Regions from separate parts of the Homo sapiens genome. Here regions 1 and 2 are each linked to region 3. The links are contacts of gene promoters, found by promoter capture Hi-C in human tissues and cell types (Jung and others, 2019). All regions are on one chromosome and are shown on one strand. The core of a region is centred on a gene start or on the middle of the fragment in contact, and the rest is flanking DNA. Distances in the headings are between cores, read along the strand shown. Region 1 has its middle 21 kb from the start of LINC02593. Region 2 overlaps SSU72 (SSU72 homolog, RNA polymerase II CTD phosphatase). Region 3 holds the start of UBE2J2 (ubiquitin conjugating enzyme E2 J2).

Region 1 (4,660 bases), core at 1,825-4,324, 370 kb before region 3:
TAGTCCCATACCAGGAACATGCCCCATTTCATGAATTATATGTCGACTTTGAGGGCTATATAATTGTTCTGGAATTAGAACTTGTGCTCCCCATTGTTGTAATAAATCTCTCCCCCATAAATTTATAGGTACAGAAGTTATAATTGGTTGAATAGTCCCAGGTTGTCCATTGGGCCCTTCACAATGCAAAATATAACTACTTTGATATACTTCAGGGGCTTTACCAACTCCAACTATGTTAAATTGAGTGGGTTGAATTGGCCACGCGGACGGCCACTGCTGTAGAGAAATAATTGAAATGTCTGCTCCTGTATCTACCAAACCTTTAAAGTTCTTTCCCTGAATAGTTATTTCACAGGTAGGACGTTTATCAGTAATTTGATTTACCCAATAAGCCACTTTGTCTTGTTTATTTGTGCTTCCAAATCCTCCTGTTCATTTAATTTCACTTTTCCCCATTCCCACATATGGCACAATCAGGAGCCGATCTCCTGGCTCTGCTTTCCAGGGAACAGAAGTAGATATAACAATTTGAATTTCCCCATTGTGATCTGAATCAGTGACTCCTGTATGTATTTGTACCCCTTTTAAACTTAAACTAGACCTTTCTAAAAGTAATCCTATCGTCCCTGCTGGCAAGGGTCCACAGACTCCTGTTGGGACCTTTTGCAGGGGTTCCCCAGGCAGAGGGCTCACAGCTTTTGTGCAGCATAAATCTACTGCAACACTACCAGCTGTGGCAGGGGACAGACATTGTACGGTGGGGAGGGAATGGCCTGAGTTGGAAATGCCCCGGTTTAGAACGGGCCTAGGATGGGCCCCTCATGGTGTTTCCCGAAATCGGGTTCCGTTCTTCATCAAACTTAGAGTGACATTGGTTAGCCCAATGATTTCCTTTTTTACATTTTGGACATATTTCAGCTTAGCAGTTCTCTTTTTTCCCCTATCTGACAGCCGACTCACTGATTTTTTTTCTACATTCTTTTTTAGTATGAATAGCTTCTTTAAATTCTTTGAGTAATTTAAAAGGAAAAGGTTCAAATGTAGCTATAATATCTCCCTGTTGATCTGGGGGGTGTATTCTAACAGGGAACTGCCAAGCCTCTAAATCACCCTCTCTTCTAGCTTGCTGAATTCCTGCCTGAATAGAACTAAGAGCAGTCGCTCCAGGCGCTGCTCAGTCACTGGGGCAACTACTTTTCGCCCACAGTCCTCTGGAAAAGAAATACCTGGAGGGTCATTTTCTTCAAAATAATAATGAGGGGGTGCAGAAGGGTAGGGATGAACCTCTCCCTCCTTTGCCGCTTCAGCTTTAGCTGGCAAACAAACCTGGTCTGTAACCTCTTCTGTTACGTCGCTATACTCTCCTTCCTCCTCCTCATCAGTGTGAAAAGGTTCCAAGGTGAAACGAACCAGACCCCACGCCTGTCCCATTGTTACCCTGATGCTTCCGAGCTCCCCTTCTTACTCACCACGGGGATGGCTTTAAGAGTACTCAGGTGTCCTCCAGCTAGTTCCACGTTCTCCAACCGTCGCTCTGGCGACCCTTCGACCTGGATTCGAGCCCCCACGATGGACGCCACTTGCAGAGACCAGCTCGGTCAGGAAGACCCTAACCCAGCGGCACTAGAGGAATTAAAGACACATACACAGAAATACAGAGGTGTGAAGTGGGAAATCAGGGGTCTCACAGCCTTCAGAGCTGACAGCCCCGAACAGAGATTTACCCACATATTTAGTAACAGCAAACCAGTCATTAGCATTGTTTCTATTAACTAAAAGTATCCCTTACGGGAAATGAAGGGATGGGCCGGAATAAAGGGGTGGGTTTGGCTAGTTATCTGCAGCAGGAGCATGCCCTGATGGCACAGATCGCTCATGCTATGTTTGTGGTTTGAGAACGTCTTTCAGCGGTTTTCCACCCTGGGCGGGTCAGGTGTTCCTTGCCCTCATTCCGGTAAACCCACAACCTTCCAGCGTGGGCGTTAGGGCCATTATGAACATGTCACAGTGCTGCAGAGATTTTGTTTATGGCCAGTTTTGTGGCCAGTTTATGGCCAGATTTTGGGGGGCCTGTTCCCAACAGTAACCAATATTAAGTCATTCTCATTTCAACATTTAAACTCTTCCAACTGAATGCATTAAAAAACAAAAGTCACACACCACTGTACCCCTTATATGTACACAGCGGTCGGCAAACATGTGACAGGTGGAGGTCCTGAGGCACCACTGGGAGCTTGTGAGCGGATGGGCGTCTTCCAGAACGCACTCTGCAGGCACTCGGCAACGTGAAGTGTTCACGTCCTGTGATGCAGCCTCTGCTCCAGGCCACTTCCGGAACTGCGAGGGAACAGCTGTGGGCGCGCTCATTTCAGCTTTGCTTCAGATCCTGGGAGTTGGGGGCACCTTCTTTTTTTTTTTTTTTTTTTTTAGACGGAGTCTTGCTCTGTCACCCAGGCTGGAGTGCAGTGGCGCGATCTCGGCTCACTGCAAGCTCCGCCTCCCGGGTTCACGCCATTCTCCTGCCTCAGCCTCCCGAGTAGCTGGGACTACAGGCGCCCGCCACCGTGCCTGGCTAATTTTTTGTATTTTTAGTACAGACGGGGTTTCACCATGTTAGCCAGGATGGTCTCGATCTCCTGACCTCGTGATCCGCCCATCTCGGCCTCCCATAAAGTGCTGGGATTACAGGCATGAGCCACCGCGCCCGGCTGGGGGCACCTTCTGGCCCACAGTGAGGGAATAAGCAAACCAGAATGGGGGGTGCCTGCACGGAATACTCCTAAGTGCTCAGACACGGCGTCCACAGATGGATCCAAATCAGTGCTGGATGACGGGCACTCACCCCAGGTCTGCAGTCCAATAACACGGGCCTGAGCAGAAAGCACGTGGCATGGAGCCCCGTGGCAGATATGGGGACGAGCGGCCAATACATCAGCTCAGGTGTCCGAGGGGTTTCAGGGACATGAGAGAGAGTGGGGAACGAAGGGGGAAATCGCTTGGAGACCCAGGACGAGCCTGGCACACCAGGATGCTGATTCTGAAAGGGCGATTAAGGAGATTCCATGTTTTAAAAATCTGGATTTCTGGCTTCTTCTGAAAAAAATCAGAAGATGTTTAGCACAACAGCGTGGCATCGTCAGCTGTACTCCTGCCCCACTGTCCCCCAGGGAGCCTGGCTCATCCCATGGCTCACAGAGGCCCACACTGTGGCCAGACAGGTCCACTGATGGCTCAGCACGTGCACCCCGGCTGCAGGGAGATGGGTACCAGCCCAGGAAGTGGGACACTGGCTGAAACAGGATGGGATGCAGGGATGGGGTGGGATGGGAGACCAAACCAGTGTGAGGAATGAGGATAAAGGAGATGCTGGAGATAAAATCTGGGCAAGTAAGCAGGGGGTGGTCCTGCTGGCTGAGGCCAGAGATGCCAGCCCACTCAGACTCCTGCGCTGGCCCTTCCACACCATCCCAGGCCCAAGGCCTCCCACACACAGCGTCACATACACAAACAGCACCCTCCTCATGGCAACAGGTGACCCTGCCCCTTCACAGACCTCCCTGCCCCCACAGTCACCCCACATTTTAAAGGGAACTTGAGTCCATCCTGATATGTAAACGTGAGGTTAAATATCTATCATGGGGGAGAACAGACAAATCTCCAGTGCAGAATAGTTCTAAATAACCTAAGTGGAGGCTCCACTCTTGAGGAGATCCAGCCTAACTCCCCACCTCTCCAACGCGGCTCATCGCAGCGACCTCCTTCTTCCAACGTGGCTCATCGCAGTGACCTCCTTCTCAGGAGTGCAGAGTGGAGGTCAGTGGTGGAGTGAAGACGGACCAGGGTTAACATCGGCAGTGATCACTTGACCTCTGCACACTTGACTCTGGGTCTTTCTCCCCAAAAAAAACCAGAACCTCAGTATAATCGTGAGGAAAATAGACAAATCCTAATTGAGGGACATTCTCCAAAATACCTGACTGGCCCTCCTCAAAACTGCCAAGGTCATGGAAAAAGGAAAGTCTGAAAAACTCACAGTTTAGGAACCTAAAGAGACTTGATTACTAAATGGAATATATCCTGGGATCCTGGAAAAGAAAAGGACATTATGTAAAAACTAAGAAAACCTGAATAAAATGTGGCCTTTAGTTAATAAGAATCCATCAATATTGGTGCATTCGTTGTAACAAGTAGTTGTAACAAGTGCCACGCTAATGTAACACGTTAGTACCAGCGTAACTGGGTGCCAGGCGTTTGTAAACTCTGTTCCGTCTTCTCAATTGTTTTGTGAATCTAAAACCGTTCTTTAAAAAGAGTTTATTTAGTAGGCTGGGCATGGTGGCTCACACCTGCAATCCCAGCACTTGGGAAGGCCAAGACTGGTGGATCACTTGAGCTCAGGAGTTGGAGACATGCCTAGGTAACATGGCAAAACCCCATCTCTACTAAAAATACAAAAATTAGCCAGGTGTGGTGGCGCACACCTGTAGTCGCAGCCACTTGGGAGGTTGAGGTGGGAGGATCGCTGGAGCCTCGGAGGTCGAGGTGGTAGTGAGCCAAGATTGCACCACTGCACTCCAGCCCGGGCAACCAGAGTGAAACGCTGTGTCCAAAAAATAAAAAAAGAGTGTATGTAAAGTGAAAACAGAGAGAGTACAAG
Region 2 (4,271 bases), core at 1,681-4,180, 280 kb after region 3:
AAGCTTGCCAGCTACCACTTCCATGTCAACGTATCAAGAAATACATCTGGGCCGGGCACAGTGGCTGACACCTGTAATCCCAGCACTCTGGGAGGCCAAGGCAGGCAGACTGCTTGAGTTCAGGAATCCAAGACCAGCCTGGGCAACAGGGCGAAACCTCATTTCTACTAAAAATAAAAAAATCAGGCCAGGTGGGGTGGCTCATGGCTGGAGTCCCAGCTACTCAGGAGGCTGAGGTGGGAGGATTGAGCCCAGGGACATAAGGCTACAGGGAGCTATGATGTTACCACTGAACTCCAGCATCAAAGTCAGAGCGAGACCGTCTCGAAAAAATAAATTCACTTTGAGGCTGGGCATGGTGGCTCACTCCTGTAATCCCAGCACTATGGGAGGCCAATGCGGGTGGATCACTTGAGGCCAGGAGTTTGAGACCAGCCTGGCCAACATGGCAAAACCCCATCTCTACAAAAAATACACAAAGTTTGGCCAGGCACGGTGGCTCACGCCTATAATCCCAGCACTTTGGGAGGCCAAGGCGGGTGGATCACAAGGTCAGGAGATGGAGACCATCCTGGCTAACACGGTGAAACTCCATCTCTATTAAAAATACAAAGAATTAGCCAGGCGTGGTGGCGGCGTGCCTGTAGTCCCAGCTACTTGGGAAGCTGAGGCAGGAGAATCACTTGAACAAGGTGAAACCCATGTCTACTAAAAATACAAAAAATTAGCCGGACGTGGTGGGGGGCGCCCGTAATCCCAGCTACTTGCGGGGGCTGAGGCAGGAGAATCGCTTGAACCCAGGAAGTGGAGCTTGCAGTGAGCCAAGACCACGCCATTGCACTCCAGCCTGGGCAAAAAGAGCAAAACTCTTGTCTCAAAAAAAAAAAAATTTCATTTTGATAGCGAATGCTTTTTTGGCAAAGCACAGAGGCTGCACAAACAGAACTCAGGAACCCCTCGAAAAGGTCTCATGGCCATCTCTGGAGCTGCTGGGCACCCAACTGTAACCGTGGCCTCAACACAGAGCCACACAAGGCTCAGGCCAGCTCTGGGGGGGTCCACCATGGCCTTGCGACTGCAGGCACCGTGAAACTACTTTGCAAAAGCATCTCACCTGCTGCAGACTAGGTGAAAACTCACAGGCTTGTGGGCCCTGACCCTGGGCTACCTCTTGAAGACGAAGGCACAGTCAGCACAGCTGCATTCTGTCCAGACCCTCAAATGACCACCAGCAACTACCTCAGCCAGTCAGCTCCGTTCTACCTCTGTCATCTCAGATGAGAAGAGCAGGCCAGTATCTCTGGCCTTACCTGAAATATCTTAAGGCCGTAATTTACATTTTAGGCATGAATGATTTTCTAAAACCCACGATCAGAGTTTCTCTGGGAATCGGCGTCTGGCTTAGGAACACATTCATTTGTTTGACAAATACCTTCCCAAAACTATTTTAAAACACAGCTGCTGGGCGGGACGCAGTGGCTCACACCTGTAATCCCAGGACTTTGGGTGGCCGAGGCGGGTGAATCACTTGAGGTCAGCAGTTCAAGACCAGCTTGGCCAACATAGTGAAATCCTGTCTCTACTAAAAATACAAAAATTAGCCGGGTGTGGCAGTGCATGCCTATAATCCCAGCTACTCAGGAGGCTGAGGCAGGAGAATCGTTTGAACCTGGGAGGCGGAGGTTGCAGTGAGCCGAGATTGCACCACTGCACTCCAGCCTGGGCGACAGAACAAGACTCTGTCTCAAAAAAGTAAATAAATAAATAAATAAATAAAGCTTCATATCAGCATTTCCTTTTTGGGAACTATACTATTCATCTGAATTAGCATATATATATATATGGGGCCGGACACAGCGGCTCACACCTGTAATCTCAAAACTTTGGAAGGCCAAAACAGGTGGTTCACCGGAGGTCAGGTGTTTTGAGACATGTCTGGCCAACGTGGTGAAACCCCATCTCTACTAAAAATACCAAAATTAGCCAGGCGTGGTGGTACGCCGCACCTGTAATCCCAGCTACTCAGGATGCTGAGGCAGGAGAATCGCTTGAACCCGGGAGGCAAAGATTGCAGTGAGCCGAGATCACGCCATTGCACTCCAGCAGGGGTGACAGACTGAGACTCCATCTCAAAAAAGAAGTCTACCACATTTTACTCTGAGACAAGGAAATGTCCACAGGGAAGTGGCCACACACAGAAGTTAACCTAAAAGACAATGAATTCAGAGGACGGACATGAACAAATGTGCAATTTAAAACACAGGCCAGGTGCAGTGGCAACCCCTATAATCCCAGAGCTTTGGGAGGCCAAGGCGGGCTCATCACATGAGGTCAGGACCAGCCTGGCCAACATGGTGAAACCCCATCTCTACTAAAAGTACAAAAATTAGCCAGGCGTGGTGGCACATGCCTGAAATCCCAGCTACTCGGGAGGCTGAGGCAGGAAAATCGCTTGAACCCAGGGTCGGAGGTTGCAGTGAGCCAAGATCGTGCCATTGCACTCCAGCCTGGGCAACAGAGTGAGACTCTGTCTCAATTAAAAAAAAAAAAAAAAGCTGGGCATGGCATAGGCCTCTGGTCCCAGCTACTGGGGAGGGTGACGTGGCAGGATCACCCACCTGAGTCTGGGATGCCCAGGCTGCAGTGAGCTGTGACAGCACCACTGCATTGCAGCCCACACGACAGAGAGACGCCCTGTCTCAAAACCAAATAATAATAATAATCCAAACCCCAAACGTCATTAGAAAAAATTAGGTAATTAGAAAAAAATCCACAAGAGAGGTACAAACAGTATATGCCAGACACAGGCTTGGTCTCCAGCTGCACGGCCAGACGAGACCCAGGAAAGTGTCAGATGCACTTGCGTTTCACAGGACAACAGTCACATTAACATTTAGAGCTACACGTTTACTTGCTTTTGAAGACAAGTGGTTTTGCAGTTCATAACACAAAAAGCTGGTAAACCTTCACTAACTTACATGTACACAGGATGAACTTTCTGTAGGATCCTGTGAGACTCCCACACACCTTCTCATGTGGCTGAATGGGCTTCCCTGGAGCGGGGGAACTGTCCAGGCCGGTGTCTGCCACCCCAGCCCTCCTTTCACAACGGCCTCTCCCTCCTCCTCTACCCTCTGGGCCAGCGGCTGTTGCCTGGACCCCCTCACTGGGCTGAGTGACACTTCACTAGGTCAGACTGGCCATTCACTAACTTAGAAACAGAAGTCACTTGTCTTCTCCCCAAAGGCACTCCAAGCAAGCTTGGGATGGCTTAACCAGACTCCTTTCAATCAAAAATGAAAAAATCCTGCAAGAAAGCTCAACTATGGAAAGTGGCTTCAGTGTAAAATGAAAAAAAATAGAGAAGCCTCTGCACGTGACCCTGGGAGCCAGGCTCAAGCCCCTCGGCAGGACACCCAGCGCAAAGCTGCTCTACTCCACGTGCCACTGAGGCTGAGCGAGGAAAAGTCATGGCAAAGAAACCTGGGACTTAGAAATAGTTCCACGCATGCTCAGCGAAAGAACAAAAGGCTGCATATGAACTGGACAGTGTGGAATGAGCAGACCTGTAGCACGGGAAGCAGCTAAACTGGACGGTGTGGAACGGGCGGACCTGTAGCACGGGAAGCTGCTACAGGCACTGGGAGGAGAATGGGCAGCAGCAAACGGCCTTGGGAGACGAAAAGCGTCTCAAAACCAATTGTGGTGACGGCTGCAACTCCATGAATGTCCTGAAACCCACAGAACTGGACACGCGACTCAGGGAAGTGCATGATTTGTACATTTTATCTCAATAAAAACAATTCTTGATAAAACGGTCAGTCCACCCAAGGAAAGAACCTACACAGTAGAGTTCCCATTTGTCTACAAAGGTCAGGGGAGCTTAGATCCCCGTCCCTGGTCCAGGTATATACACTACTACTATTATTACTACCCTGGCTGGAGTCCAACAGCACAATCTCAGCTCGCTGCAGCCTCTGCCTCCTGGGTTCAAGTGACCCTCCCGCCTCAGCCACCTGAGCAGCTGGGATTACAGGCACACGCCACCACACCCAGCTACTTTTTGTATTTTATTTTTGGAGACAGTTTCATTCTGGTTGCCCAGGCTGGAGTGCAATGGTGCAACTTCGGCTCACGGCAACCTCCATCTCCCAGGTTCAAGTGATTCTCCTGCCTCAGCCTCATGAGTAGCTAGGATCAGGCATGCACCACGATGGCCGGCTAATTTTTTATTTTTAGTAGAGACGGGGGTTTCTCCATTTTGGTCAGGC
Region 3 (4,330 bases), core at 1,628-4,127:
TCCCCAGGCCCTTCCCGGCATAGCCAGAGCCACCGCCTTCAGAGGCCTCCCTGATTTCCCTGCCAAATGCCTCCCACTCTGTCACACATCACTGGCCTCCATGTGACCCCACACACAACGCAGGGCCCTTCTGGGCCCCAGCGGGTTCCTCTGCCTAAGGAGTGCCTCCCCAGGAGGGCCCCCACCAGGGATGGGGTTACAGTCCTGCCTGGGAAGGAAGTGCTTCCACACAGTGGCATCCCCAGCTCCTGGCTAAAGAAGCCAATGGGCCAGGGATCTCCCCTCAGGCCAACACCTGGTGATGGCCACAGTGATGACCCCAAGCAGCACCGCCACACAGGCTGTCCTTTCGACACTCACCCTGAAGCTAACACTCTGCCATATACAAAATAATTCACTGGACAATTCAAGTGCAGGTGGGTCTGGGCTTAGCTAAGTGGCCAGGCCGCAGGTTTAACGAAAGTTCATGGACAGCCGCGCAAAAATAAAATAGATTCCATCCAATGAGTCACAAACAAGCTTCTCTCCCATACCTGCTTGGAGAGGCTTTTAAAATCATGTTCACGATTCAACTGCTGTTTCCCCAGCCACTCTTCCTGAGCTTCACACAGAACAGCATTCTCACGTCCCCCAGGAGGCCAGGGGGCTATTTCCCCCAATTCTTCTCATCCCAATATGACAGCAGGAAGGACAAGGAAAACAAAAATTCACAAAGGGGCTGGGCGTGGTGGCTCACACCTGTAATCCCAACACTTTGGGAGGCCCAGGCAGGCAGATTACCTGAGATCGGGGGTTCGAGACCAGCCTGACCAACATGGTAAAACCCCGTCTCTACTAAAAATACAAAATTAATCAGGCATGGTGGCATGTGCCTGTAATCCCAGCTACTCGGGTGACTGAGGCAGGAGAATCACTTGAATCCAGGAGGTGGAGGCTGTGGTGGGCCAAGATCAAGCCATTGCACTCCAGCCTGGGCAACAAGAGCGAAACTCCGTCTCAAAAAAAAAAAAAAAAAAAAAAAAAAAAAATTAGCCGGGTGTGGTGGTGGGCACCTGCAATCCCAGCTACTCTGGAGGCTGAGGTGGGAGAATTACTTGAACTCGGGAGCCGGAGGCTGTAGTGAACTGAGATCATGTCACTGCACTCTAGCTGGGCCAACAGAGACCCTGTATCAAAAAAAAAAAATTCCACAAAGGAAGCAAACTGTGAGAACAGAGTTTGAAGCATATGTGCCTCGGGTTCCCTTCAAACATCCCCACAGACAAAGGACACCAAGCATATCATCCTGCTGAGAGAAAGAGTTGGCGATTTTAAAACAAAAAGGCACAGGAAAAAAAAATGTTCACACACAGAAACTGCATTAAAGCAGCGTGAATCACCGAGGGCAGCTGTGCCCAGGTGCTGAGGCAGTGGCTGCCCAGCGTCCCTCACCCGTCCCTCTTTGTCTGGACAGCTCTTTCCTGCTTAGGGGATGTGGCAGGAAACCTTGGCCTGACCCATCGGCCAGGCGCATGGCACACCCAGGTCCAGGACTGCCAGGGAAGTCTCTGCCTTCTCCACCAGACTGCTCCGGAGGCTGGACGGAAGCCCGGGCCGATGGAAATGGGACACTCACCTGCGACTCACACATGCACCTGCCTGGGTCACCTGCCTGTCACTCATCCACGCACCTACCTGCCTGGCTCACCTGCCTGTCACTCAAGCACTCACCTACCTGCCTGGCTCACCTGCCTGTCACTCACGCACATCCCTGCCGAGAGTGGAACTGCTAAGGAGGTCAGCGGTGCCAGGCCGTGCAGATGACGGACTGCAAGTTCCGGGCACCCAGACCCAACCACGCCCTAGGCTCAGGTGCTAGACTAAGCGAGATACTCACGATCCTTTCTTCGGAAGCCAGATTACACAGTCTGGTTCCCCTGGAGCAGGGCGCGGGGCCACCGACCTGCCCCAGCCAAGCCCGCTGTACACTCTTCGCTGCCCACCTCCCACCGGGCTGAGGCCCGACCTTTCAGCCGCTTCCTATCTGGGTCTGGCAAGAGGATGGCAACCGGACTAGAGTTAAATACACACGCACTAAGTGGCAGGCACTGAAAAGGACGCCAGGAGGTGACACCTGGCCAGGGGCTGAAAGGATGCAGGGAACTGGCAGGTGTGGATGGCGAGGCCCGGCGCCGCTTAGAGACTTGTTCCGGGCTCGTGTCTCACTCGCCGGCCGGCGGTGGTCTCCCACTGTCACCGCCCGGGTTTCCCAGAAACGCTGGCCCTAAGCACAGTCCCGGGCACGCTCGTTTCTCTCGGGGTTTACGGGGCAGTCTGGAGTCTAACAGTTCAGGGGCGAGGCGACGGCGGGCTCGACGGCAGCCCTCCCCCGACACAGACTCCCGTGATCCACTGACGAACCAGGATCGAGGCTGCCCGTCCTGGGGCAGCTGCAAGTGTCCCAGCTGACGGGAAACCCGGCCGAGTGGTCAAGTCCCCGACATGACCCTGACCCGGAGCTCCGGGAGCCCGCCGTAACCGACCTCGGGTTCCGCGCAGGCAGGCTCGGGCCGGGGCCCCGCGGGCGGCGGGCGCGAACGGAGAAGCGTCGCGCAGGGTCCCCAGCAGCCCCGGGCCGCCGCTGTGGCCGGCTCCGGCAGGGGGGACGAGCGGGCCCGAGGACCCGGCGCAGGCCTGCGAGCGCGCTCACCTCTCCCTGTCGCTGCGCGTGGGCCGCCGCCGCGCTCAGGCTCGCCGTAGTCGAGGCCGGAGCAGGGTGCGGAAAAGCGGGGCCCGCGCCCGAAACAGCCGCACCGCCCCGGGATTGGGCCCACCGAACCCGCCGCAGCGCCGCCGCCGCCGCCTCAGCCTCCAAGATGGCCGCTCGCGGGGCGGAACCAGCCTAGCTTCTGCTTCCGGTGCGCGGTCCGGGGCGGTGAGGAGGGAGGGGGAGGGCTGGCCGCTCTAGGCAGACTGGCGGACCGCGCCCACGACTCTCTGTCGCCGTCGACCCCGGGGTGGGGGATGGGGCGGGGGGCGGGGCGGCGCTTGCGCACTGGCGGGCGGCTCCGGGCACCGTTAGTGGGCGCGAGAGCCCCAGACCCCGAAGCCGCGCGCTTCCCTCCCCATGTGCCACGGCCCAGGGCGGCAGGCCCGGCTGAGGGCGACCCCGGTGGAGAAAGAACCCCGACCCTCCCGCCTCCCGGCTCCCGCCTTGTCCTCCGCTCCCACGCCCCACCCGGCCCTTAGGGGAGGCGCGGCGCGGCCCGGGCATGGAGCGTCCCGGGCCCCTGGAGGCTCAGTGGAGGGTTGGGCTCCAGGGAGCTCAGAGCTCTCTCGTTCAGGGACCCGAGAGTGACACGCGTGGCATCTCTTTGCAACCCACGTCCGCGCCGCAGCACCCTCCCCTGCAGGTGCCTGCCCAGCCCCGGGATGCCCCTGACCTCCCCTTGGACAGACTGCAGAAAGCGCGGGGCGCTGCGTCCTCTCCACCTCTCTCTGACCCCAGACACATTGGGAGAGAGCGGTAGGTGGCGGGGCGCTGGGGTGGGACGCTGGGGGCAGGCGCGCAGCCCACCGCCTCCCTGAGAGGCCGCTGAGGACAGCGGGGAGCTGAGGGTGGTCCCCTGGTGGGGGATCAGGAGGTGGACCTCGCCACCTGGCTGCCTGTGGCCCTCTCCTTTGCCCCAACCCTGACTGCCTCTCAGGAACAACCACAGGTCAGCAAGGTGGCTGAATATTGAGGGTCAGTCCCGCTGTGGCTACGGGCAGAGGGCAGGCTGTGTCCATGCTCAGCCCTGACTCTGGCCCTCTGGGACACCTTGGTGGGTCTGAGACGTTGCTGCAGGCCGTGGGGCAGAAGCCAGGAGGAGTGTCCACGCAGCCTCAGCCCGTGGGAATCCAGCCTGCCTCCATTACTGCCGTCACCGGCTCCACCTTCGGAGAACATCTCAGCATCCAGCCTCCTTCCTCTGCCTCCTCTCAGGCCTCTGCCGTTCCCATGCAGGGCAGGCCAAACTGTTTTCACAGCATGGAAAGTTATGTGAGGGAAGCCACACCGGCCGCAGATACAGGCACCAGCACATCCACTCGCATGCACACTCACGGCTGTGGCCCGCGGCAGATGGAGGCCCGCTCTGCCTTGTCTGTCCCTCAGTAGTGTGCGATGACAGCACACCTGTGGGGGCCCTGCAGCTGGGAAGACTGCAGCGAGGCTCAACTCAGAGGCCCCTGCTCAGGAGCATGGCTGAGTCACACCCCAGGGAGAAGGTGCCCCGGACAGGTGTGGCCAGCACGTCTTGCCAAGACCCCACCACCCCACCCACCCGCATCTGTGGCCTTCTGGTAAGCA

Evidence for each region. The method cuts DNA at HindIII sites, captures the fragments that hold promoters and counts their contacts. A contact is called where the count stands out against the background at its distance.
Region 1: a fragment that was not itself captured here is called in contact with the fragment with the promoter of UBE2J2 in region 3 in 1 of the 25 tissues and cell types used here (mesenchymal stem cells).
Region 2: a contact is called between a fragment that was not itself captured here and the fragment with the promoter of UBE2J2 in region 3, in 3 of the 25 tissues and cell types used here (hippocampus, lymphoblastoid cells and spleen).

Annotation. Positions count from the first base shown.
Region 1 is chr1:896,615-901,274 of GRCh38, forward strand. No RefSeq gene overlaps it. Among named protein-coding and RNA genes, the nearest start is that of LINC02593, 21 kb to the right of the region's middle. RefSeq lists a silencer at 1,354-1,514. The HindIII fragment of the contact is 9,929 bases long and covers 1-4,660 here.
Region 2 is chr1:1,555,667-1,559,937 of GRCh38, forward strand. All of the region lies in intron 2 of SSU72 (SSU72 homolog, RNA polymerase II CTD phosphatase), which reads right to left. Among named protein-coding and RNA genes, the nearest start is that of SSU72, 17 kb to the right of the region's middle. The HindIII fragment of the contact is 4,081 bases long and covers 891-4,271 here.
Region 3 is chr1:1,270,977-1,275,306 of GRCh38, forward strand. UBE2J2 (ubiquitin conjugating enzyme E2 J2) reads right to left here and starts at 2,878. Exons shown (of 7, transcript NM_058167.3): 1 at 2,690-2,878. It overlaps LINC01786 (long intergenic non-protein coding RNA 1786), which reads left to right and starts at 3,026. Exons shown (of 3, transcript NR_185846.1): 1 at 3,026-3,505; 2 at 3,827-4,323. RefSeq lists enhancers at 1,010-1,518, 1,519-2,025, 2,026-2,533, 3,724-4,330 and silencers at 2,723-3,302, 3,463-3,512. The HindIII fragment of the contact is 25,820 bases long and covers 1-3,301 here.